6 separate regions of the Homo sapiens genome follow, and all the other regions are linked to region 1. The links are contacts of gene promoters, found by promoter capture Hi-C in blood cells and fetal thymus (Javierre and others, 2016). All regions are on one chromosome and are shown on one strand. Each heading gives the region's core, a stretch centred on a gene start or on the middle of the fragment in contact. The rest is flanking DNA. Distances are from core to core; before and after follow the strand shown.

Region 1 (4,165 bases), core at 397-2,896:
TCACATTTTTAGGACTTTTTATATGCCACAACTTATTTTTGACTAATGTCCTTCCACAGGGAAATTTTTGAGAAAGGCAGAAAAATGAGAAAATGAAAATCCACTTCTTTGTCATAACCTTGAGATACGACAACTTCCACAGAAGTCTACATTAAGATCCACTTTCTAATCTTTCTCTGCACTCCCAAAATTACTCTTAATTTCTGTTAACCATTCCTACAATATGGGAGATAGCAAAGGGAAAACTACTTCCATACTTCTTCCCAAGATGTCCTCACCAGAAACAATCTTCCTTCCTGCCTCTATGTCTCCAAATATACGGAATCTCTCAAAAAATAAAACTAAAACAAAACGATAAAAGAGAAAAGGGACTCAAATCACAAAAGCCAGCCTTCAAAGTCTCCAGCTTTCTTACTGCAGAACTACAGTCATGTGGTATGATGGAGGCACCTGTTAGGTGGCAATCCATGAAGCTTAAAGTGTTACCAGGAGAATTTAAACAGTAATGGGGGGAGGAAGAGGAGCTGATTTCCCACCTCACATTTTTTTCGCCTTAACACATGATGGCCAAACAATATATGCTACCCACTGTCAACATTTTTATCATTTTTACTTAAATTGAGAAAGAGGAGAATTTGAGAGCCAACTGAGGAAACTGGATCTCATATTCCCCAATCCAGGCTGACTTCAGGTTTTGTGTGGTTTTTTTCTTCCTTTTTGACAAGGAAATTTTACATATCTCCTGAAACGTGTTTTACATGAAGGTGAGACCTCAACAATCTTATAACTTTACCCCAGCCTGGTTCTGGACTCGGTTTTTACAAACGGGTGACGTGTGAATAGCTTCCTAAAAGCAAATGGGGCACTGGGATATAATCTAGGAAGTGATGATGCAAGTCTCCGGAGGACGGGGAGGAGGGGAGGTGAAGAAGTCAGAGGAAATACCCTCCTAGTGCCTGGGCACCAACTCACGCCCCGGGAGGGAGGAAGGGCTGGCTTCCACATGCCCACGGAAGGGGCACCCCTGCTCCTCCCGGAGCGGTCAACGCCGCCCCCTCATCCCTCCCCGCCGCCCTGCCCCCCTCACCCGTGGCCCAGGAGGCCCCCGTGGGCCCGAGCTTCAGGCCGGCGAGTCCCAAAGGGTAGCAACGCACCCCCGGCAGGGCCTTCTCTGCCCACCCCCAGCTCCCCACCCGGCACCCCTCCCCGGAACGCGACCCCCACCCCCTCCCCGTAGGCCCGGGCTGGGCCCAGCCTCCAAGGTTCCGGCCTCCCGGGCCCCGAGGCCTGCCCAGGCTGCCCTGGCGTCTGCGCCCCCGGCCCCCGCCCCCCGCCCCCACCCGGCCGGGCACTTACCCCCAGAAGCCGCAGGGACAGCGAGGCGGCAGGCTGGGCGCTTTGCTGCGCTCGCTCCCAGCGTCTCCCATGGTGCTCGGCGGCGGCGGAGCTCGGCGGCGGCAGCGGTGGCGGCGGCTGGGCCCGGGCCCCGCTCTGAGGAGGCGGTGGCGGCGGCGTCGGGGGGCTCGGGGCGGGGGGAGGGGGAAGGAGCGGGCGCGCGGGCGGGCGCGAGTCCGGGGCTCGGAGCCGGGATTCCAGGCCGGTCAGCTGGAGGCGGGCCGCACCACTCGGCCTGCGGAGACGGGGAGGGGGCGGAGAGGCGCGGAGAGAAGAAGGAGGGAGCCGAGGAGGAGGGGCGTGCGGACGCACCGAGGACCGCGGGGGAGGAGGGACACAGACGCCCTCGGCGGGTCTCACCGCCGCTCCCCAGCCAGAGAGATGTCCTGTGCGGTGGCGCAGGGAAGGACCGGAGCCCCCCGCCGGCTCCGGAGTCGCAGCGGCCGCTCTGAAGCCCCGGGCCCTGCTGTCTCCGTAACACCGTCCCCTCCCCCGGAGGCTGCGCTGACCGGACAATGGCCGCTCCGCCCCCTCCCCGGCGTGCGCCCCTCCCGAGGAGTCACAATGGTCTCGCCCGGGGGAGCCAACGCCAAAGCCCAGCCGCTGATCAGCTGGGATCCGGGCGTGCCACTTCGTTCCGCGCCTCAAAGGCGGAGTGCGGGGCTGTGGGAGAAAACGAGAGCCTCGGGCTGTCGCCCGGCGACGGGCGGCTGAGGCCTTCGTATTCTTAGAACTTTTAGAATCTGAAGCAAACTTATCTTCCCCCTGTCTGAAGAAGGGGAGCAGGTTTCTGAGTACTCCGGGGCGCGGTGCCTCCCCCTAAACGCGAATGGTGCGCTCCAAGCGGGAGGGGGAGGAGCAGATTAGTTGTGTAGGGTAAATTGGGCCAGTCCCAGAGTGGCGGCGCATGCGCCCGTAGAACCCGTAACCGAGTGCGAGGAGGGGCCTGGGGGAGCAATGCCAAACGCGGAAGTGGAGCTCTGGCTTCCCGGGGGCGTCGGAGTCAAGGTCCCTGGAGCTGCCGCTCTGGCTCCTGGGCGATTCCGGGGAGCCATTCTCCCCAATTTGCCAACTCCCTGGGCATCTCTCTCTCTCTTCCTGGTCCCGCCACACCCAAACAACTCTTATAGTTCCACCCGGTATACTGGTCTCTTGACAGGAACTTTTGGGAAATGCCCCTCCCCCAGCCCCTTGTCTGGGGCAACTTCCTTGTCTCTTCTCCCCCACCGGTGTTGGGGAGTTCCTTGTCTCCACTCCCAACCACAGAGCCACAAGTACATTATCTATGCCCAGGCGAGTCCCTATGCCCAGGCTAGGAGAGCCGCACTTCTTCCTACAGCTGACACGTTTGGTTTTTGGAGGGGAAAGGGGAGCTGTAGCTGAATCAGTAATGGAAATTGGTAAGTGACCAAAGAAGTTTGAGACACTAAAAAAATGAGTCCTTTAACGATCCTAGTCCTTGATCCTGAGCTCATTCTGATCTCCAGTTAGTCATGAACAGAGAAATCGATTATTGATGACTAATTCAACACGGAGGCAACATCCTCCAGACCTTTTGGAGACCCATCGCTGAGGAAGACTTCCTGGCTCTTAGGAATAGCTGCCGTATACCCTCCTTGCCTGTCGGGTATATCAGAGCCTCAGAGAGACTATTACCTAGATTAATTTGATTACCAAATGTTGCTATCTTATTTCTTTATATACCAAATCACATTTCTGTTTGTGCATACTGTGTGGGTTTGTTAACATTGATGTTTATTTTGGCCTCTAAAGAGCAAGGATCGCATTTAGCTTAATATGCCACAGATGCTGTTGATGGTGAAGTTAATGATTGCAAAAATCAAGCACTTAAAGCCAAAACACCCTAAAATGTGAGTGCTGATTTATTATGCACAATGTTTAGTTTTAATTTGGTGGATTTTCCAAAGCCTTCAATAAGTATATCTGTAAGAAAGTGCATAGAAAAAGCCGGACGCTGTGGCTCACGTCTGTAATCCCAGCACTTTGGGAGGCCAAGACGGGTGGATCACCTGAGGTCAGGAGTTCGAGACCAGCTTGGCTAACATGGTGAAACCCCGTCGCTAGTTAAAAAAAAAATACAAAAACTTAGCCGGGCATGGTGGCACGCGTGTAATCCCAGCTACTTGGGAGGCTGAGGCAGGAGAATCGCTTGAACCCGGAGGGCGGGTGTTGCAGTGAGCCGAGATCATGCCATTGCACTCCAGCCTGGGCAACAAGAGCGAGAGCGAAACTCTGTCTCAAAAAAAGAAAGAAAGAAAGAAAAAATGCATAGAAAGGATAAAGCCATACAGCACACCTTGCTCTCATTGGATTCATATTACCCTTAAATCTTCATTTAAGCCGACATAAAATTCCCACATGCGTGAGATACTTAACAGCCTTTGAGTTTAACAAAGATTAAGTGGGATTATCTCTCTTGGCATCTTGATGATTTTCTTTTATGTACAGAAAAGGAAACTCGACAACTAAAAGGAGAATTCAACATAAAAAGTGATTGTCATTTTCCAAACTGCTTTCCTGTTTGCCAGTTATTCAACAAACATTTATTCAGTACCCAGTATACACAAGGACTTTGCTAAGCACTCTGGAGACTAAAAGGATTAATAAAATGTAGCATTCACCAGCAGGTCCCTACATATAATGTAGATAATTTGGTTCCAGTCTTCCTCTCAGACTTCATTTTCTACTCTTCTCTATTCACTCTGCGAAGCAGACACTAGTTGCCATTCCTCAAATACCTTGCTTTCCC
Region 2 (3,993 bases), core at 789-3,288, 830 kb before region 1:
CCAAAGTCCTGGGATTACAGGTATGAGTCACTGTGCCTGGCCAGGTGTATAAGTTTTAACTTTTACCTGAAGTGAGGGAAAGGGACTAGGAATAAGATAGTCATCATAAGTGTATTTACCATTCATTTTCCTAGTTTTTTCACAAACAACTTGAAGTGGCTAGTGAAATTACAAACAGAATGTAGAAAATTATAGGTAAGCCGGCTGGGTGCAGTGGCTCACCCTTATAATCCCAGCACTTTGGGATGCCGAGGTGGGTGGATCATGAGGTCAGGAGTTCAAGACCAGTCTGGCCAACATAGTGAAACCCCATCTCTACTAAAAATACAAAAAATTAGCCAGGCGTGGTGGTATGCACCTGTAATCCCAGCTACTTGGGAGGCTGAGGCAGGAGAACTGCGTGAACCCGGCAGGCGGAGGTTGCAGTGAGCTGAGATTCGCCATTGCACTCCAGCCAGCCCAGGCAATAGAGTGAGATTCCGTCGCAAAAGGAAATTATAGATAAACCAGAGAAGGAGAAAACCCAAACTTAAGTACAAGGTTCAGTACCAGTAGAAAACAAATTAGAATGCAGATATACAGACCACAGGTTTCTACTCAGGCACTAAAATGGAGCCACACTTTGACTCAGAGCTTCATGGCAGCTAAGGTGAAAAGGAACACATATCCAGCTATGCAATTCACTTGCTGTAAGCAAGACACATCAGTTATTCAAGAGTAGCCAAGCTCTTCATGATACCTGGCTCTGAAAGAAAATTCTCATGTGATCAAGTGCACAGTAACAATCCTATAGTAAAAGCTATTGGAGCTTAGAAGATGATACCCCAATATATGGCACTTTGAAGTACTAAAGAAGCAGCTTCAAAATCTGACACCTCTTCACCCACATCCCATCTCCAATCTTATCTCTCCTAAAGCTCAGGATGAGGCTCTTCTCTTTAGTTCCCTTATATACCTATAAATTGGACCCATCAAAGAGGAACACAATTGCCTTTGATTCCCTCCCTGAAATTAACTAGAGATTAAACCTCACATCAGAGGAAGAGACTGAAAATTAAACACCACATGTAGAGCCCAAACTTTGTCCCAAACTATCATCCACTTTCCCTTCCCACTCAATTCCCAAAGAGAATCATTTACTAACCATTGCCTGAGCATTGGAGCCATTTATTCCTCCTAAAAATAACTTACTGTCCCTTAAAATTACCACATCTCCCCCATCTCTCCTTCTCTTATTAAGGGTATATAAGCATCTGGACCTCGTTGTGTTACTGGATAATCATTCTCCTGTGATTCCCCTGTGCTTATGCACGTTAATAAATTTGCATACCCTTTTCTCCTAATCTGCATATTGTCAGTTCATTTTCAGCACAGCTTCAGAGGGCAGAGGGGAAGCTTTGCCTATTTGCCCACACAATGCACTGGTGGGCTCTGTGGAGTTGTCTCTTCCAGAATTGCTTAACATATGCAGAAGACACAATACTCAAAATACAAGCCATGAAAACACTCTTGGTGGTGGATGAGGAAAGTTTCTGTGTGTGTGCTCAGGACAATATGGTCAGGTATGCAGTGTCCTGATGGACCAGCTAATATTGTGTGGCTGACTAAAGGCAGATACATACTGTTTAGAATTCAGTAATCTAAAAAGCAGATGGTAGAGGGCTGACAGCCTTTTGTGAAGAGTGAGTCACCCTATTAAGATTCTCACCTAAATAGGAACATTCCTCTCCATATGGTAGTGAATAGAGAGAGCCCCTGCAGGCAATCTAGGATTTTCCTTAAAAAAACAACACTTCAAAAATAAAAAAAATAAGTGTTCAAGACCATCAAGTTCCATCCAATAGAGCAAGAGGTCTGCGAACTCACAGACAAGTCATGTTTTTCTTTTCTTTAAAAAAAATTCCCATTAGTTACCAATATTTAGAGGTCAACAGATTTCAAATCTGGCAACTTTGGATGCTTATACCACATAGCAACAATCTGCTGGGCTGAGTATAGAGTACTTACCCACCTGCCTAGGCCATTTAGGCATTAGAATGCTCTGTTGGAGAATGATCAAAATTTGGATTGAAATTTTTCAAAGAAGAAATGATCAGTTGCTCACTCTGACGGTAGGAAAATCTAATTAATGCTCCCATGAAATGTATGGCTTTTAGCAAAGTGGCTGGCCAGTAAATCTACCTGGAAGAATTACTTGCAAAACATACCCTTAAGTAAATAAATTAACGTGGTATTTAGTTACTGGATCTAAGCCAATTAAATTTGAGGACATGTGCCCTAAAAAATTATTTTAGTTTTGGAACAGGTGATCTTGATCCATTCCTTCTGATAAACGGTGAGCAACAAAATCAGCCATAAAGTTTATTATAATAAAATATCATCAGCATATAGGAAGATAATGGGTTTTTTGATTTCTAAAGCGAGGGAGCATGTGTCCAAATAACCTAAAAGTGGTTTCAAATTACTTAAACATAAGTTAAAAACAAGAAGGGCTACAACTATTTTATGCTACCTAAAATACTTTTTGATCCGTCTGAACAATTCTATTGATCTGGACTTTCCAGGTCATACAGAAGTCTTGGTTTTATATGAACCTGGATTCTATATTTAACTCATGCAACTTAACCTGAAACCAGCTCTTATTCACAGAGTCAAAGCATGAGAAATCATTTGAAGCTTCAAACGTTCTTTTAAGAACAAAGTTTATTTTTCTAATTATAAAAATTATCATTGTACATTGTCAACAATTTGGAAAATAAAGAAAATTTACATTATTTTTCTCTCAACTATTTATTTTTAAAAATTTCAAAGCAACAGAATACAGATATGCAGGCCAATTCACCCACTTACAAACGCTGAGCCAACAAATTTACTCAGAGCTTCTTGGCAAAGTGAAAAGTGAAAAACAGGCAGTTATATAATTCACATTGCCTATAAAGAGAAAACACATCAGTTACTCAAGGGTAGCCAAATATTTCATGACTTGTGGCTCAGAGAGAAAATTCTCTTGTGTTCATATGAGGAACACAGAGTGATATCACACACAACAACCTGTCAACTATGCCTTCTAGAATTCCTCAGTATAAGGGAAAGGGTACATAGTATGAAGCCTGGGGGGTTAAAAGCATGGATTCGAATCCTAGCTTTATCACTTATTAATTGTACCTTGAGTAATTACTTAACTTTCTATGCCTTGGCTTCCTGTTTTATAAAATATTGTGAATAATATCACCTACTTCAAAGGGCAGTTATGAGGCTTAAATGAACTAATGCCTACAAAACACTTAAACATAGATAACATAGGTGCAAGTACTATGTATCTGGTACATGGTAAACATCCTTATTATTAAAGTCAACGCTAAAATGAATGTGTGTGCATATGCTAATAGTACAGAGAGAGGGCACTTAAACCAACTAAGGGCCTGAGGGAAGGTTTCCTGGAAAGAGGATGCTTGTGCTGGGTCCAAATCTTGGTCTACTATGACCTTGGCCAAATTATTTAAACTTTGTCCCTATCTGCTAAAACAGATACTTTGTCAGTGATCTATACAATAAGCTAATGTTTACAAAATTAAGTAAGATAATACATGAGGATTAGACAAGCAAATGTATTAAAGCATGGCATTAGTGACAAAAAATATTTCCTCTTGAATCTACTGGAAAAATATAAATTATTCTTGCATTTAACTTTTATTTGTGTCCATTTTAACAACTAACCAATTTTAGTTTAGAAACAGTTATATATAAATATTCATTTAGATCACAACAAAACTACCTAGAAGGAATGTTAGGTGACAACGCTGGTTTAGCACAATTCTCCTGTTCTTTTTTTACCTCCATGGAAATGCCTTAATATATTTGTGTCCATTTTTGAGGCATACTGTGTTTACTTAACAGTGTAGGTAAGTACAACACTCTTGACTTCCATTAGATAGAGCTAACTGCGCCCTTATCTGTATCACTTTATATATCCCTCATTTCACTTCATACAGA
Region 3 (4,061 bases), core at 501-3,000, 740 kb before region 1:
GGATTACAGGCATGAACCACCAAGAGTTCGTTAAACAACTCTTGGAGGCAGGCCTTATTTATTATCTTCATTTCACACAGCCTCAGAAAGGTTAAGTAATTTCTCTAAGATCTCAAAATCAGAAAAGTGGATTCTAACTTGGCTATGTCCAACTTCACAGTTGGTTGTGTTATACATTGTCACTGAGAAAGAAGCTACTCTCATATCTAAATAACTTTACCCCCCTTATTTGTAAGGCTTAGAAGATATGTGCCTGGTCTGGGACCTCTGTTTTTTTGGGAAGCTTTGTTTATAATATTGGCGTTATCAAGGGATTCTGACAGAGTCCTCATAGTGATATCCTAATACCTTGTTTTTATAAACAGGTAGAAGGTTTACATTGTTGTCATAATGCCTGGAAGAAGGAGGAAAATTATTTATTAGCTAAGATATGGTTTATAACATAGGTAAGGCCCACAATTTTCCAGACACTGAGTATTTCATTTGGTCTTACCCAGGAAATAAGTATTATTGTCCAACTATTGTATTTCACAAATGAGGAAACTGAGGCTTAGAGAGCATATTGAACTTATAATCACACAGCTAGAACATAACCGCTGGGACTGAAGCTGAGGTCTGTCTGACTCTAAAGGTCTTTTTATTATTTATTTATTTATTTATTTTGAGACTGAGTCTTGCTCTTGTCGCCCAGGCTGGAGTGCAATGGCACGATCTTGGCTCACTGCAGCCTCTGCCTCCGGGGTGAAGTGATTCTCCTGCCTCAGCCTCCTGAGTAGCTGGGATTGCAGGCGCCTGCCACCACTGCCAGCTAATTATTGTATTTTTAGTAGAGACGGGGTTTTGCCATGTTGGCCAGACTGTTCTCAAACTCCCAATCTCATGATCTGCCCACCGTGGCCTCCCAAAGTGCTGGGATTACAGATGTGAGGATGTGAGCCACCGTGCCTGGCCCTTTTTTTTTTTTTTTTTTTTTTTTTTTTTTTTTTTTTTTTTGGTGAGATGGAGTCTCGCTCTGTTCCCCAAGCTGGAGTGCAATGGCCCGATCTCGGGTCACTGCAACCACCACCTCCCAGGTTCTAGCGATTCTCTTGCCTCAGCCTCCCAAGTAGCTGGAATTACAGGCGCCACTACATCTGGCTAATTTTTGTATTTTTAGTAGAGACGGGTTTTCACCATGTTGGTCAGGCTGATCTCGAACTCCTGACCTCAGGTGATCCACCCGCCTCGGCCTCCTAAAGTGCTGGGATTACAGGCATGATCCACCGCGCCCGGCCGAAGGTCTTTTTAAACACACAGTGCTGTCTTTTTCATCTCTGTTTATCATCTTGTGGTATTATCTTTTTTTGTGTGTGAGGCTTCAAAGATTAAAAAAAAATGTTTTATTTTGGACTTTGGATTCTGAAGTAATAACTTTTACTCCTGGGTGATCAAATCTCTCTCTCTCTCTCTCTCTCTCTCACACACACACACACACACACACACACACACACACACACACACACTTTATAGGACAAAGATAATATCCATATGCTTGCTATATATCTCTTAATCTTCTAAAAGCATTTGCCATTTGACTTTCCAGACCCCTTAGTAGGTCTGGAATCTGGCAGTTGTCAGATATACATTTGAATGCTTAAATTAATAAATCAAGATTTTAATTTTGCTGTTATAGTTAGTGAATGGTGCCAGATTGAAATCATTTTCATGATCAAATAGTGGGATGCATACTAGTTATCATTTTATTTAGTCTATTTATACTATGATGATAGGCCATGCAGACAGGAAACATTAAAATGTAGAATGTTAGGATGTACCTTGGGATGTGCTTCTAGTTCCCTGAGAAACCTTTCTAGTTCCCAAAGACAGGCATTTCCATGATGACTGTGGCCTTTCGTATATGATGCCCTTGTTAGCTGAATATTCATTACCTCGAGCCTTGCAGTTTTGAAGGTTGCATAGGGAAACAGAAGTAATCATAGTATAAAAATGTTCACTAATGAACTGTCCACGTGTAAAATTAGTTCCCACTCAAACATTCATCCCTGTGAATTCTATTCCTGCCCATCCCATTAGTTATAGTGTTTTACTGATTGTTCGGAAGATGTAAAATCAGTGTACTCAATTGCAAAGTCAGATGGCAGATTTTGCAAAAATACAAGAAATAAAGATTTCATGAAATAGAGAAAAGTGAGGTTGAAAAGCTGCCAGACTGACATACGAAGCCATTGGCAAATAAAATTCTGGCAGCATGAGACCAGTGAATAATTGAGAAAGAGAAAATCCACCAAAATGATGACATGGTAAGCATTTCAAAAGAAGAATCTGACAATTAAAAATTAAAGGAATGTTGGTGATGTCCAGGTATTTTTGGAAGAATATTCTTCACTGTAATTGTGCTGGGGAAGTTAGGAAATGCTAGAAAAACTAAAAGATATCTAACAACTGTTTATCACTACTACTGCTACTACTACTATTTTGGTTAGCACATAGTTGCATTTATTACATACGTTTTGTTAAGTAGAAGATTAAATATATACTTACATTTAATCTCAATTTTTAATGTAATGAAACCCCTTTTCCACATTCACTATGGAATTTTGGTCGTTATTTCAAGTGAATTCACTTTAAATGTCCTTTTTCAGGTAATTGTTGTTCTGGAATAATGAGAACCTCCTGTAATGGGTTATATACTTGTCTTTATGTGTCTGTGTGTCTTCCCTCTCCAGTTTTGCTGGTAACGAACAGCAGCAACAAACACAGGCAAGGAGAGTTAGAGATGGGGTGAGTCATCCTTAGTAAAATTGTCTTTTAACCAGTGAGGCAAAGAAACAGAACCTTGATGAGCAATAATCTATTCTAGAAGAGTAGCTAATCAGCAGATTATACTTTTATCTTGGAGAAAGGACTGCAGGTCACTCATTAAATCAAAAGGCATTACATAAATAAAGATTTCCAGTTTGGGGGTACTGGAGGGGACTGTAGCAATATTGTTTTTGAAGTCTTTGTTTCTCTTTAGTAGCATCACCCATAGCTTTGATGTTACTCACACTCTAAGATGAATACATTTTGGAGCTTCCTAATCCATTTGAAAAGGAAAACGTGTTTGTAACTTTACCAGCCTTAATTTGGCCTACTGGTAGACTTGGCAGGCTCCGCTGCAACAGCAAGAGTGGAGTTTCATATACCCTGCTGGCTGCTTTCACTACAGCCAAGCTTCTGGAAGCCCATTATTTCTGAGGATACCATTCCTTTTTGGATTTTTTTTTTAAGTCTTAGAGTCTGGGGAATACCCCAAGGTTGTGATAGTATCCAAGAATTCAGTGTTTTGGGGATTTTGAAATCTGTGAAAAGAACATATATCACTTGAAATTACAATGCACAGTTGATTTTCTGGTAACTTCCAAACAGTATGCAAGCTCCGTTCTAATAAAATCAGAAGATTATTTTTTTGGGAACTTGAAAAGTAAATGTATACCTTAAAGCCATTTTCTAAATAGAGCTCATTCATTATGACCCACGTTTGCATTCATGCCTCCCTTGAACTTAGGCCAGAATATTTATCTACAATTTAAATAGCAACACGTTAGTTAAGTGCTTGATTTAAAGTGGCTGGCACTTCCATTTATTTTTCTTTTATTGGAAAAGTTCATTCCTCTGAGAGGGGTTGAATTAGTCACTGTATAGTTGAGATAAGTCCCTTGATCTGGGGACAAAACATTCACAGGATTTGTGTGGCTGTCTATAGCATCTGTGTGACAGGCACATCATGAATCTCTTAATAGTTGTGAGATTGCTTTTCACTCAAAAGTATGATGTGTGACTGACTCCTTCTTCTCTATTTTATGGCAAATCATGTAGCTCATATATCATGCTAGCCATAAATCTTAATTTATGTTTGTCTGAGGATTTGACTCTGAGATTTACCTTCTTAGATGCTGAAAATATTCAATACCATATGGTTTCTTTTATTAGTATGATCAAAATTTTCATCAAAATGTTGAAAAGTTGACACTGAGACGGCTAAACTAGTAAATAGTGTGTTTTGTTTAATGTCTTTCATG
Region 4 (3,951 bases), core at 1,024-3,523, 760 kb before region 1:
CCACCGTGCCCAGCCTTTGGCTTAGTTTTGACTTGTGGTGTCAGGACTGCAGGAGATGGTTCCAGGGATCAGCAGCAACAGACTTTGCACCTCCACTTTTTATGCCTAGTAAGAAGGGAAAACACATTTATTTTTACCAAGTAGTTATGCATCATTGATATCTGAATAGCATGGATTTCAAGCTTTTGTTTGCTTGCTTGCTTATAAAGTACTTCCTCTCTAGATTGGAGGTGTCAGGAGGGCAGGGCCTATCTCTGTCGAGTTCACTAATTCTTCCCGATACCTTGCATGGTGCCTGGTACAGGATGAGTCCTCAGAAAAATGCCTTTTGACTGAATACTGAATGAGCGCTTTATATGTTACTTTAGCATATATTATCTGTAGTGTAATTTTTATCTGTAGTGTATTTTTTACAGTAACCCTATGAGGTCAGTTGGACAAAGTATTCTTTTTAGATGAGAAAGCAGATTCAGAGAGACTAACAGGCCTTACTCAAGGGGGGTGAATGATAGAGCCTGAATCTTAAGCTTGGTTTTTTTCACTTTAACATTTTTTTCCCCTATATCATACTATTTGTTTCTTTCCTCTGGGTCTAAGGCAATTTTAGAGGGAAGTGGGGGTTAGAAAGAGGGAGAAGGTATGGCCATTCATCAGAAACCCTTCAAGAGGGAAGGAGCAGAATATTCTGTTAAAAACAGGGCCTCTGCAGGCAGACTGCTTAGGTTCTGATCTCAGCTCTGCTACTTCCTGGCTTTGTGACCTGGGACAAGTAAGTCTGTCTAACTTTTTTCTGCCTCCACTTCTCATCTGTGAAATGGATGTAATAATAGTACTGTACTCAAAGGATTATTATGAGGAGTAAGTCAAAGGAATTAATATTTGCAAAGTGCTTAGGACAGTGTCTAGCACGTCATGTATTATAGAAGATTTGTTAAATAGGAAGAATATGGGTGATTATCACACGCTAATAGAATTTAGAAAGTTATAAATCGATAGCACTTAAACTTCTGATGGTAAGAAGTTAAGCATAACTAGGATGTTTTGTTTATTTTTGCTGGGTTGCTACAGTCTTTTGCTTCCATTTTAAACTTCCATTTTTCAGCTGCAATATATTGTTCTTTTCTGGTGCCACTCTCTTTACTCATCTTCATTTGAAATTAAAAAAAATTTTTCCAGAAATCTGCAATGATGAATTACTATCTTTTTGCCAATAACCTGATTATAGCCCAGACTTTCCCGTATTCAAATCACACAACCAAAATGTATGTGTACTGTGAGAATTCGGTATTTTTTTACAGTCTGTAAACATACATAGTTCTCTTATCGTGTGCTTTTTAATATGTTTTCTTAATAGTAATGGCTGTATATTTTGAAAATATATGTATATATGAGTAGAGCTCATAATATGCTTTACAAACATCATCTCATTTAATTCTTAAACAGAAACACCTGGGGGATAGATATGGTCTCCCCCCCACCCCATTGAGAAATGGAAGTTGAGAGAGGGAAACTTCTTCAAAGTGATGCACCTGGCTAAATGTGGAGCCACTGTTTAATCTCTGACTCTTCAAGCTCTTAATATCTTTCTGCAGCCTCTTGTCTTTCCATGGAGAGTGTCAGTTTTAGAATGTTAGTACCTGGAAGATAGGTTCCACATCTGTGAAGCATAATTTACACGGAGGACTTCAGAGTCCCAGGCACAATTGGTGGTTAATAAATCTAATGTTGGTGAGGGGAGGGGATTTAATAATAACCATAATACTGATTTTGATGACAGACTATCAATTTTCATTTTTAAAAATTCTCAAGTGCAGAAAAAAGATATCTTTTTTAAACGATCTTGTTTTATAAGCTAGATTAATTAATTTCAGCATATTCATATATAACTAACAGCTATGCTATATTGGAACCTTTCTTTTTCTGTTGTTTTAACAGATTTCTGACCTGTTTGCTTTGCTTTTATACATTGTCCTCAGTCCAGATGGCAGGTACAGGTCATCTTACATGCTATTTTTGTTTAGTAGATTTTTTTGTTGTTGAGACGGAGATTTACTCTTGTTGCCCAGGCTAGAGTGCAATGGCGCGATCTCAGCTCATCGCATCCTCTGCCTCCCAGGTTCAAGTGATTCTCCTGCCTCAGCCTCCCGAGTAGCTGGGATTATAGGCATGTGCCACCACGCCTGGCTAATTTTGTATTGTTAGTTGAGACGGGGTTTTACTGTGTTGCCCAGGCTGATCTCGAACTCCTGACCTCAGGTGATCCGCCCACCTCGGCCTCCCAAAGTGCTGGGATTACAGGCATGAGCCACTGCACCCCGCCTGTTTAGTAGATATTAAAGTTACTAGTAGAATGAACTCAGCAGAGCTGATTTGTTTGTCCTAGTACATGCCTTTTCTAGTTTTATTAACTTTTGAAAAATAACATTAGTCTCAAGCACTTTGTGGTTGTGATACTAATATTACATTTAAACTCTGAACATTTTTTTTGTTTGTTTTTAATAGGGACAGGGTCTTCCCATGTTGCCCATGCTGGTCTCAAACTCCTGGGCTCAAGTGATCCACCTGCCTCGGCCTCCCAAAGTGCTGGGATTACAGGCATGAGCCACTGCACCCGGCCTCTGAATGGTGTCTTAATCCTCATAGATGTTCTGTATTTTCTATCCAATAAACTTGTCTATGCTGTTCTTAAATGCAGATACTAGAATAAACTGGAATGCTAGAATTGTATTTTTTTCAAAAAATACAGAATAAATAAGTAATCATTAACCTTGCTTTTTCTATTTTTAACTGTAGTACCAGAAGAAAACATTGCAACTATGAAGTATGGAGCCCAAGTTGTAAAGGGGGAGCTGAAATCAGCCTTATTAGATGGTGATACTCAAAATTATGATTTGGATCATGGATTTTCAAGGCACCCAATTGATGATGACTGCCGTTCCGGCATCGAGATTAAGCTAGGTCAGCCATCCATTATCAATCACATACGGATACTCTTGTGGGACCGAGATAGCCGGTAAGTGATTAGCATGACTTAGAAACTGACATTATGTTTGAGATGACTTAGCTTTGTGGTCATCTACTTTTGTTTTACAGATATGATGGTTTATTTCTTTGTGATCATTCTGCTATCTCTTGAAGGTTGGTTTTGGGGAAGGAGTTAAAGGATATATTTCTTTAAAAGAAATACACTTTTTTGTTTGTTTCTTCTTATAAAAATATGTGTTTATTGTAGAAACCATAGAAAATATAGAAGAGCACATAGAAGAAAATAAAAATTGCTAGTAATCTCATTACCCATTATTAATCTTCATATGTATCTAGCATTTTTTTCAATTATGCATGGACACATACACACACAAAACAGAAACCTGCACAAACATAGTTTTATAAAATGAAGATTAGATATACAAAAAGCTAATTTTACTTTTAAATTAATACATTGTGAACACTCTACCCTTTAAAAAATATTCCTCTAAAATGTATTTTTAATAGTCGTTTTGTATTCTACCATGAGTTAACATTATTTACTTGATTCATTGGTTTTGAATATTATAACCTTTTAAATGCATTTTACCATATGGTGAAGAGAAATAATGTCTTTTAGTGTGTAGATAAGTATTATCCTCAAAACAAAAGAAATTTGTGAAAAAGTTTAATGAACTCCAGTTTGGGAACCCATTTAGTTTCTTGGGGGCTTCAGAATTCTGCCTTTCTTCCAGCCACTGTGATGCTTTCACCCACTGTGGCTTCTAGGTTCAACCATAATGGCAGAAGTACCAGAGCAGTATGAGTGACAAGAACTGAACTGTTTCCTTCATTGCTGTTTATCATAAACCTAAACCCTGCATACCCAGAAACTGTGCCCCACTTATGCCTCTTCAGATCTGGGCATGAAGGGCTTAAATAGTAATGATGATGATGCCCTGCAAACCTTACAAGGTAGTGTGTTTC
Region 5 (4,050 bases), core at 10-2,509, 680 kb before region 1:
TAGAGTGTGATATATTTGCATTTAGATTTTGGCAGAGTTATGATTTTTCTTGACCAACTGAAGGAGTTGCCCATGGATTTGAATCACTGAGGTTTAACGGAAGAAAGGATCCCTGTAGTTGAGGAAATGAAGGACCTGGGAGGCCAATATATTGTTTACATAGTGTGCATTATTGTTGGCGTGTGATGCCAGCAGTAGGAGTGGAGGAAAAGTGAGCCAGGAGTGTAAGTTTTTAGTTTGGTGGGATGAGTGTGAAGTTGGTAGGTAATGGTGACTGGTGTGGGTGGAGCTAGAACTGTGAAAGGGCAGGGAGAGTTGCAAGCAAAAAGGGATGAAGTGGTTTGAGAGTAGTAGGGGGGAACAAGGACAGCTGCCTCCTCTATCTCCTGGCTCTGGGATTTATGGGGCATTAAGAGAAAAAAATAGTAACTTGAGAGGGCTGTTGGGGAAGCATGTTTAACTGCTAGTGATAAGAAATCAGGAGAGAGAGAGGTTGGAGAGGGAGAGGTTGAAGAGCAGAGCTACCTGAGAAGGGAGAACAGGTAGATGGGCTGTAAAGTCTTGGTGGAGAGATTAGCCTGGGCCGTCTCCTGGAGAGAAGGGGGAGGGCAGCAGCCCTGTTTGTGGGTTGTTGGCTAGAGGCTGCCCCTCCTCTTTCATTTCTGCAGAAGGCAGCGGGAACAGCTGCTGAGAGTAGGGCGATGGGGGATTGGGTAGGAGACATGAGAGGAATGGAGGAGGTGTGATGTAGCTGCTGTGGAGAATGGAATAATAGAAGTGACACATAGAAAGAGCATGAGGAGATAGTGAGGGCTCAGCTGAGATTGGAGAGTGAGTTAGGCATAAACTCACTTCCCTCCCTTTTCATTACACGTAGAATGTCAGTTTTCCCCTATTTCCACCAAACTGAATTAATTGCTTTCTCATCTGTTTCCATAGTGTGGAGCACCTACTTTTATATCACTTATCACATTGCGTTACAGTGATTTACCTGTTTTCCCTTTCAGAGTGTGAGTTCTTGGACAGTAAAGCTTATTTATCCTCTCTTCATGATCACCTAGAATAATGGCTGGAATGTAACAGGCACTCAGTTAACGTTCATTGAATTGAATCAAATTGCACAAGTATGGTCATTTTATTTTCCTAATAGCTCTTTCCCTTCATGAATCTGATGCCATATATTCTAAACAACTTATTCATTTCTGTGGGCACAGTGTGCTCATTAATGATAAGCCATCCTATTTCTGTGTTACGCAAGAGTAAGACCTGCGCAGAAGATGAAGATATCCTGCTCATCTCTGCAGGTTTGGTATTTGTGTATTTGCCTTGGGGATTTCTGTCAGCAGAATGTTTGCCTCGTTATTGACCTTGGTCTATAGGACATTCTCAGAGTCCTCTTCCCTTAGCATTCTTTCCCTTCAGAGCAAATGGTACTGGTCTTTGTGATTTGAACATGGTAGGAGGCTGGACATGGAAGAGAAAGCTTTTCTTTTAATAAAAACTCAACAAGCAAAATTTAAAAATCACCTTGCTTCCAAAATGTTGGAAATATTATACCAAAATGAAGAGAATACACCATGGAAAAAAAATGTACTCATATTGTTTCGTGGGTAGCAAAATGAAGGTAAATTAAGTGTTATTCATATTCCATGTCAGTAGCCAAAGCTCTGAAAGACTTCTTTAGGTTCCCTCTCAGACAGAATTATAGAATCTTCTGTTAGAACAGACCATGGTGAGCAGCTGGCCCAGCCACCCAAGCCAACATTTGAATCCCCTTTACAACATCCCCATCTGGCAGGTGTCCAGCATCAGCATCTCTAGGGATTAGCAGAGTTCTTGACAATAGAAACCAGCTTCTCATTGACACCAGGATATTGCAGATTGCTATCTCTATACCAGTAGTTCTCAAACTTTTGTTCCCAGGAGCCCTTTATTCTCTTAAAAATTGTTGAGGACCCCAAAGAGCTTTTGTTTATGCAGGATATGTCAATATTTATTTGTTGTCTTAAAAATACAACAGTAAACCCATTACATGTCAATATAGATATCATTTTTGATGAAAAATAACTATTTAAAAATTAATTTAATGGAGAGAGTAGCCTTGCAAATCTTAATGTCTGGCATAATAAAGAGAAGACTGCTGGATTCTCCATTTCTCATTCAATCTGTTGTGACAGAACAGGTGATGGAGCCTGTGGAAAGCTCAAGTGCACAGACATGGGAGGTAAATAACTTCTCTGAATTCAGAAGTTTTGATCTCACAGACCTCCCAGAAGGGTCTCAGGGACTCCCAGGAGTCCCCAGACTACATTTTGAGAACTGTTGCTCTCTTATACACCAAGGGATGGGATTGGTGATGTAAATTGGCAGGGACTGCAGTGAAAGAAAAACTAGATGCAAAAAGGGGCCAAGAAAAATGTACTCACATCTATGATCAACAAGTATTGAGTGTTTACTATGTGCCCAAGTGGAAAGCACTGAAGATACAGGTTGAGTGTCCCTTATCTGAAATGCTTGGGACCAGAAGTGTTAAGGATTTTGAACTTTTTTTGATTTTGGAATATTTGTATTATACCTACTGGTTGAGCATTCCTAATCCGAAAACCTGAAATCTGAAATGCTCCAATGAGCATTTTCTTTGCTCATCATGTTGGCACTCAAAAAAGTCAGATTCTGGAGGATCTTGGATGCTTGGATCAGGGATACTCAACCTGCACTAACACTCGCGTCAGGTGTTCTCTGTCTTCTTCAATGTGAAGGCTCATTTTGGCCTAAAAAAATTTTTAGAACTGTAAGTTAACTTTTTAACTTACAGCATCCATTGAGAAAGTGAACAAAAAGCAACTGTGAATTTTGTTCTCGTTTTAATAAATTTCTGTTTTATTCATCACAGCAATATCTATGGACATTAGATAGAAAATTCATTAGAAAATGAATACTCTATATTGTATACATTAAACATTTGGTCTTCAGCCAGTGCTTTGTACCCATGGAGATCTGCAGAACCTTTGCAGATATATCTGTGCTTGGCCTCTGTACCTGCCATGTCGCCTATGACCCACAAGTTGGGAACTGAATTCACTCATCTGTTCTTGTCACTGGCATTAAAGACATTGAGTGATGGATTTGTTTTGGGGTTATTTTTAAGCCTTTAAGACTTTTGATGCCTTCAATTAAGATGGCCAGGTATCATAAAGAATTCATGCATGCGCTTCCGGGGCTTCTGGTTTTCTTGACTTGTCCTTATCTTGCTAAGAGCAATGGATAGGCATTTGCAGATCAGGCACTCTCACCTGCCCTGTAAGATGTTGCTCAGAGTTAATGGAAGAGAATTGTGTTGAGAGAGTTAATACTGAGTTAGAGAAAAGTGGAAGTGTGTAATAGTGCAAAGGGAGGAGTGAGAAATTAAATGGTATCTTTTTAGAAGTCTGCCTTATTGCAGTCTGCATTGCTCCTTGGGGATTTTTCTACTGAGTACAAGAAAATCAGCAAGCACTTTTTGAAAAACCCAGATGAAATTACTGCCGTAAATTTTTATTTTTTTTCATGGTATAAAACCCTTAATTTAGATGGGGAGGGTTTATTACCAGTGTTTTCTTGGCATGGCTAAATTCAATTAATTTCAGATGACAAGCTCCAGGTCCCCCCTACTACCACCCCTCTGCTGCCTTTTCCTCCCCCCTCCATCCCCCAATATGTGGAAAATACAATTTGTTATTGGTTTGCCTTTGGCTCTGGAGACCTCATTAAGGGCCTGAGAAAGAGATTCTATCTCTCTTTCTTTGACACCTTTCTATTTTCTGCTGGATTCAGACCATTTCCATTGCCACATGGAAAGTATGCATGGTGTGTGTGAGGGGAAGGTTAGCAGACAAGTAGTAATGATTATACCTTTTAAATATTGATTTGAAATGACTATTGCAAGTTAAGAAATTGTTAACTGCAGTATTCAACTAAGATACGGAGCTCAGCTTAAGATGACGTCTCTGAAAAGAATGTGGGCACATTTAGACAGGAAAACTTATTCAGCGCTCTGACAGTTCATATGTA
Region 6 (3,743 bases), core at 502-3,001, 890 kb before region 1:
GTGAAACCCCGTCTCCACTGAAAATACCAAAAAAAATTAGCCGGGCGTGATGGCGGGTGCCTGTAGCCCCAGCTACTCGGGAGGCTGAGGCAGGAGAATGGCTTGAACCAGGGAGGCAGAAATTGCAGTGAGCCGAGATCGCACCACTGCACTCCAGCCTGGGCGGCAGAGTGAGACTCCGTCTCAAAAAAAAAAAAAAAATATATATATATATATATATATATATATATATATATTTATTTATTTATTTATTTATTTTAATAGCTTTTCGGGTACAGGTGGTTTTTTTACATGGATGCATTGGATAGTGGTGAAGTCTGAGACTTCAGGGTCATCCAGGTAGCATACATTGCAAGCGATATGTAGTTGTTTCATCCCTCACCCCCCTCCCACCCTTCCCCTTCTGAGTCTCCGAAGTCCACTATACCCCTCTGGATGCCTTTGCGTAGCAATAGCTTAGCTCCTACTCATAGGTGAGAACGTGCGGTATTTGGTTTTCTAGTCTCAAAACGGGGAGTGGGTGTGAAGTCACTTAGATGTCCAGTGTAGAGACTGACAAAGGGTAGTGACTCAGCTGGGGTTTTGAAGCAGGGGTTCCCTGGGTTCAACTAACAGAGGTGGAGGACTGAACTGTAGCGTGGATTCCAGTCCCCTAAAAAGAAGGAAAGTGGGCGGGGAACCCGGCTGCATCAGGGCCTCCCGGACAGGGGCCGGGCGCTCACAGCGCGCTCCGACCAAGTACTCACCAGCCGCTCTCTGGGCCCCGATGCCCCGACCACTCAGCCCACTGAGGCCGGCCCCAGCGGTTGCGCTGCCCCGGGGGAGCTGCTCCGGCCTCCGCGGCCCGGAACGAGGCTGACGGTTGGGAGTCCGAGACAGGCTCGCTCGGGGGCGAGGGCTCCGCAGTGCGCAGCTCCCTACGGGGAGCGACTGGAGGGGCACGGGCAGCCCCCGCGCTCCCCAATAAAGGATGCACCCACCGAGCCCGAGGACTGAAACATTGTTTAGGGGACCCCAGGCACTGAAGGGCGGGTTCCTGGAGATGGACATTTGGAGTGCGGTGCCAGGGGCTTGGGAGGATTCCCGCGTATACGTGGTAATACGGAAATATATAAAATAATGTTTTCTATGACCTTTACAGTTTCTGAAGTTACTTAGTGTTTTCCTTGAGAACCTAAAAAGTGTTTCCTGGTGAGTCAGTGTGTTCAGAAACCTGTGACTGATGAGAGAGAAAGATTCTGGGGGAAAACTGACTTCTCTCCCAAGTCCACCCCCTCCCCTCTCTAGTACGGTTCTGCTTTTGCTGTGACTGCCTGACATGATGTGAGCGGTCCGTTTTTAGTTGGGTGTGTTAACCAAAGAAAAAAAAATCAGTCATTTAAATAATTAATATTAGTTTTATTCAGATGTCTTACTAAGGATTGCAATCCGGAGAGTCTTTCAGAGACTTTCTGTGAGACTGCTCCAAAGCTTAGGTACAGGTGGTGGCATGTGATGGGAAGTGGCATCAGATGTGCTCAGCAGTTACATCAAATGAGCTCAGCAGTTACATTAGAGCAAAATCTCATCAAGGGTGGGGTTCAAGGGTACATCTGGTTATAGATTGTAGAGGCATAATCATTAATCCTATCAGCTATTATCTTATTATGTACAGGAAGAGGCATGAGTTAGGATCCTGGAACTTTTGCAAGAAAAGATTCATGCAAGAGATGTTATCATCTTCAGGGGCATTCTTCCAGGGGCTGCACTTAGTCACTGAGTTAGGGGATTTGTGAAATGTAGCTGCCAAAGAATTCTCTGACATTCTGCTGGCAAGCAGAATGAGCAAATATAGCTTCTTACATAAACTATTTTGTCTTACAGGTGTGAAAGTCAGTCTTTGAATGTAGAGCAGATCAATGTGGAATGAGGACTGAAAGGTCTGTCAACTGAAAAAAAAAACAAGAATGAATATAAAAAATCACAAATTAAATAAACCATGGTCCATCCATATTAATAGACATTACTCAGTGATTATACAATATAAGCTTATGGGAGCAAGGGAGTTCCTGAATATCCTTGCTGACTGTGCCGAAATGCAAGACCTACCTACCCTCTAACTCTGAGCCACTTCCTTAACCAATCTTTAGGCAACTCAGCAGGCCACAGCAACCACGGCACGAAAAGGCACAATTGCTCACTTCCTGGGGAGAGGGACTAGCTTGTTTACTGCTCGATACAAAAGATACTGAGCACTTAGCCCTAGATTCTTTACCTGCCTCCCAGTCCACTGCCTGCATCTGGGTCCACGGGGTTGCCCATTGGGACTTGGGGTTGGGGGAACCGGCCTCCCATATGATACTCCTGCCATTTGTTGAGGTAGTGTTGAGGACAAGTGCTCTACCTCTTGTCCATCGAATCTCATTGTTTACTTTTGGCACTGATGGAGCTGGGGCAGGTTTTATACTTGCCTTCTTTTCCTGTCCCTATGCTGTCTCTCTATTCTCATGTAGTAAGAAACAAACCAGAATACCATATTCCTTAATAAAGAGCCTTAAATATATTCATTCATATGCCTTAACCTACAAATGCCTCTTTTGAAAATATATTCCTAAGAAATAATACTAAATATGGACAGAGCTTTGGTTCTAAAGACATGTGTTGCTGTATTAGGTTTGTAGCACCGTGATCCATGCAATAGTTTCATTAACTCTGGCAGAAAACTAGCTTCATGGAATACTGCCAAATGATAGCAACCCTGAGAATGCCTGAGATACAGGAAAACTGTACCTTCCACAGAGTTCTCTTGAGGCTTAACAGAAGGTAAACCCCATGCAGCACTTATATAAGACATTAAGTGCCCACGATCCTGAGTATTAAGTGTCCCCGAAAATACAATGAGGGAACACATATAAAAACACTTAGCACAGTAGTACATGGTAATGGCTAAATCAATGCTAGCTGTTATTTGTAGTAGTTTAGTATTAGTGTGTGTAGTGAAGAAAAATACTGAACCGGTAATCAGGGAAACTGAGTCCTGTTACTGTGCTACTCAACAAATAACCGTTTAGTCGACTAAGCCTCAGATTGTGAAACTGCTCTATTACTGGATGTCCTTATTTGTAAAAAGAAATGGGGGAGTTGAGATAATCTCTAAGTTCCCTTCCAGTTCGAAAAATGTCTAACTCTATGACGAGTTTGGTTTCAAGCCTCATCAATTGAGAGGAAGATGATACTATTGACCGAAATAAAAATGTCAAAACAACCAATTGGAAATGTCTAGGTGTTGTAGGGAATATGCAATTAAGGTGCACAGATTAGCAATATTTGCTATGTTATAATTATCCTAAAGTACCACATGGTCATATTATCAAATAACAATTTAAGTAACCAGTTATTCAAGTAAAACATATATAATATTAAATAACTATCCACAGCTCATTCCTTTGAGCTTTTCTTGAAGGATTATCAGTTTGTGGCTGTAATGGCACATTTATATCTTGTTTAGTGTGGTCCATTCTACTTGCAAACAAAAATCTCTGCCAGTGCAGAAACCTGAAAAACCTGACAATAAGAACCTAAGCAACTGTGAACCCAAAAGTATCTGAGACAGGTTGCAATCAATTCAGAAAGTTTATTTTGCAAATATTTTGCTAACGTTAAGGATGGACCCATGACATAGCCTCAGGAGGTTCTGATGACATGTGCCCAAGGTGGCCAGGTTACACCTTGCTTTTATACATTTTAGGGAGACATAATACATG

What was found. Contacts are between HindIII fragments. The CHiCAGO score rates a contact against its expected background, and 5 or more counts as called.
Region 2: a fragment that was not itself captured here is called in contact with the fragment with the promoter of ZFAND3 in region 1 in 1 of 17 cell types (naive B cells); the score reaches 5.1 in naive B cells.
Region 3: a contact is called between a fragment that was not itself captured here and the fragment with the promoter of ZFAND3 in region 1, in 1 of 17 cell types (total B cells). The highest score is 7.1, in total B cells.
Region 4: a contact is called between a fragment that was not itself captured here and the fragment with the promoter of ZFAND3 in region 1, in 1 of 17 cell types (naive B cells). The highest score is 6.1, in naive B cells.
Region 5: a fragment that was not itself captured here is called in contact with the fragment with the promoter of ZFAND3 in region 1 in 3 of 17 cell types (M2 macrophages, M0 macrophages and monocytes); the score reaches 7.3 in M2 macrophages.
Region 6: a fragment that was not itself captured here is called in contact with the fragment with the promoter of ZFAND3 in region 1 in 1 of 17 cell types (total B cells); the score reaches 5.3 in total B cells.

The regions. Positions count from the first base shown.
Region 1 is chr6:37,817,208-37,821,372 of GRCh38, reverse strand. It overlaps ZFAND3 (zinc finger AN1-type containing 3), which reads right to left and starts at 1,646. Exons shown (of 6, transcript NM_021943.3): 1 at 1,357-1,646. The coding sequence starts at 1,427. It overlaps ZFAND3-DT (ZFAND3 divergent transcript), which reads left to right and starts at 1,986. Exons shown (of 2, transcript XR_007059569.1): 1 at 1,986-2,795; 2 at 2,883-4,165. RefSeq lists silencers at 1,020-1,189, 1,350-1,579, 1,620-1,999 and enhancers at 1,278-2,080, 2,050-2,439. The HindIII fragment of the contact is 21,540 bases long and covers 476-4,165 here.
Region 2 is chr6:38,644,052-38,648,044 of GRCh38, reverse strand. The region is part of intron 1 of LOC105375044 (a long non-coding RNA gene); the gene reads right to left. Among named protein-coding and RNA genes, the nearest start is that of BTBD9, 6.1 kb to the right of the region's middle. The HindIII fragment of the contact is 1,281 bases long and covers 1,398-2,678 here.
Region 3 is chr6:38,553,948-38,558,008 of GRCh38, reverse strand. All of the region lies in intron 6 of BTBD9 (BTB domain containing 9), which reads left to right. Among named protein-coding and RNA genes, the nearest start is that of BTBD9-AS1, 74 kb to the right of the region's middle. The HindIII fragment of the contact is 2,930 bases long and covers 286-3,215 here.
Region 4 is chr6:38,579,280-38,583,230 of GRCh38, reverse strand. BTBD9 (BTB domain containing 9) reads left to right here. Exons shown (of 11, transcript NM_001099272.2): 5 at 2,794-3,013. Among named protein-coding and RNA genes, the nearest start is that of BTBD9, 59 kb to the left of the region's middle. The HindIII fragment of the contact is 3,488 bases long and covers 530-3,951 here.
Region 5 is chr6:38,499,868-38,503,917 of GRCh38, reverse strand. The region is part of intron 6 of BTBD9 (BTB domain containing 9); the gene reads left to right. Among named protein-coding and RNA genes, the nearest start is that of BTBD9-AS1, 20 kb to the right of the region's middle. The HindIII fragment of the contact is 452 bases long and covers 1,034-1,485 here.
Region 6 is chr6:38,712,419-38,716,161 of GRCh38, reverse strand. DNAH8 (dynein axonemal heavy chain 8) reads right to left here and starts at 851. Exons shown (of 93, transcript NM_001206927.2): 1 at 747-851. DNAH8-DT (DNAH8 divergent transcript) reads left to right here and starts at 947. Exons shown (of 2, transcript NR_186581.1): 1 at 947-1,096; 2 at 1,864-1,992. RefSeq lists a silencer at 815-864. The HindIII fragment of the contact is 557 bases long and covers 1,473-2,029 here.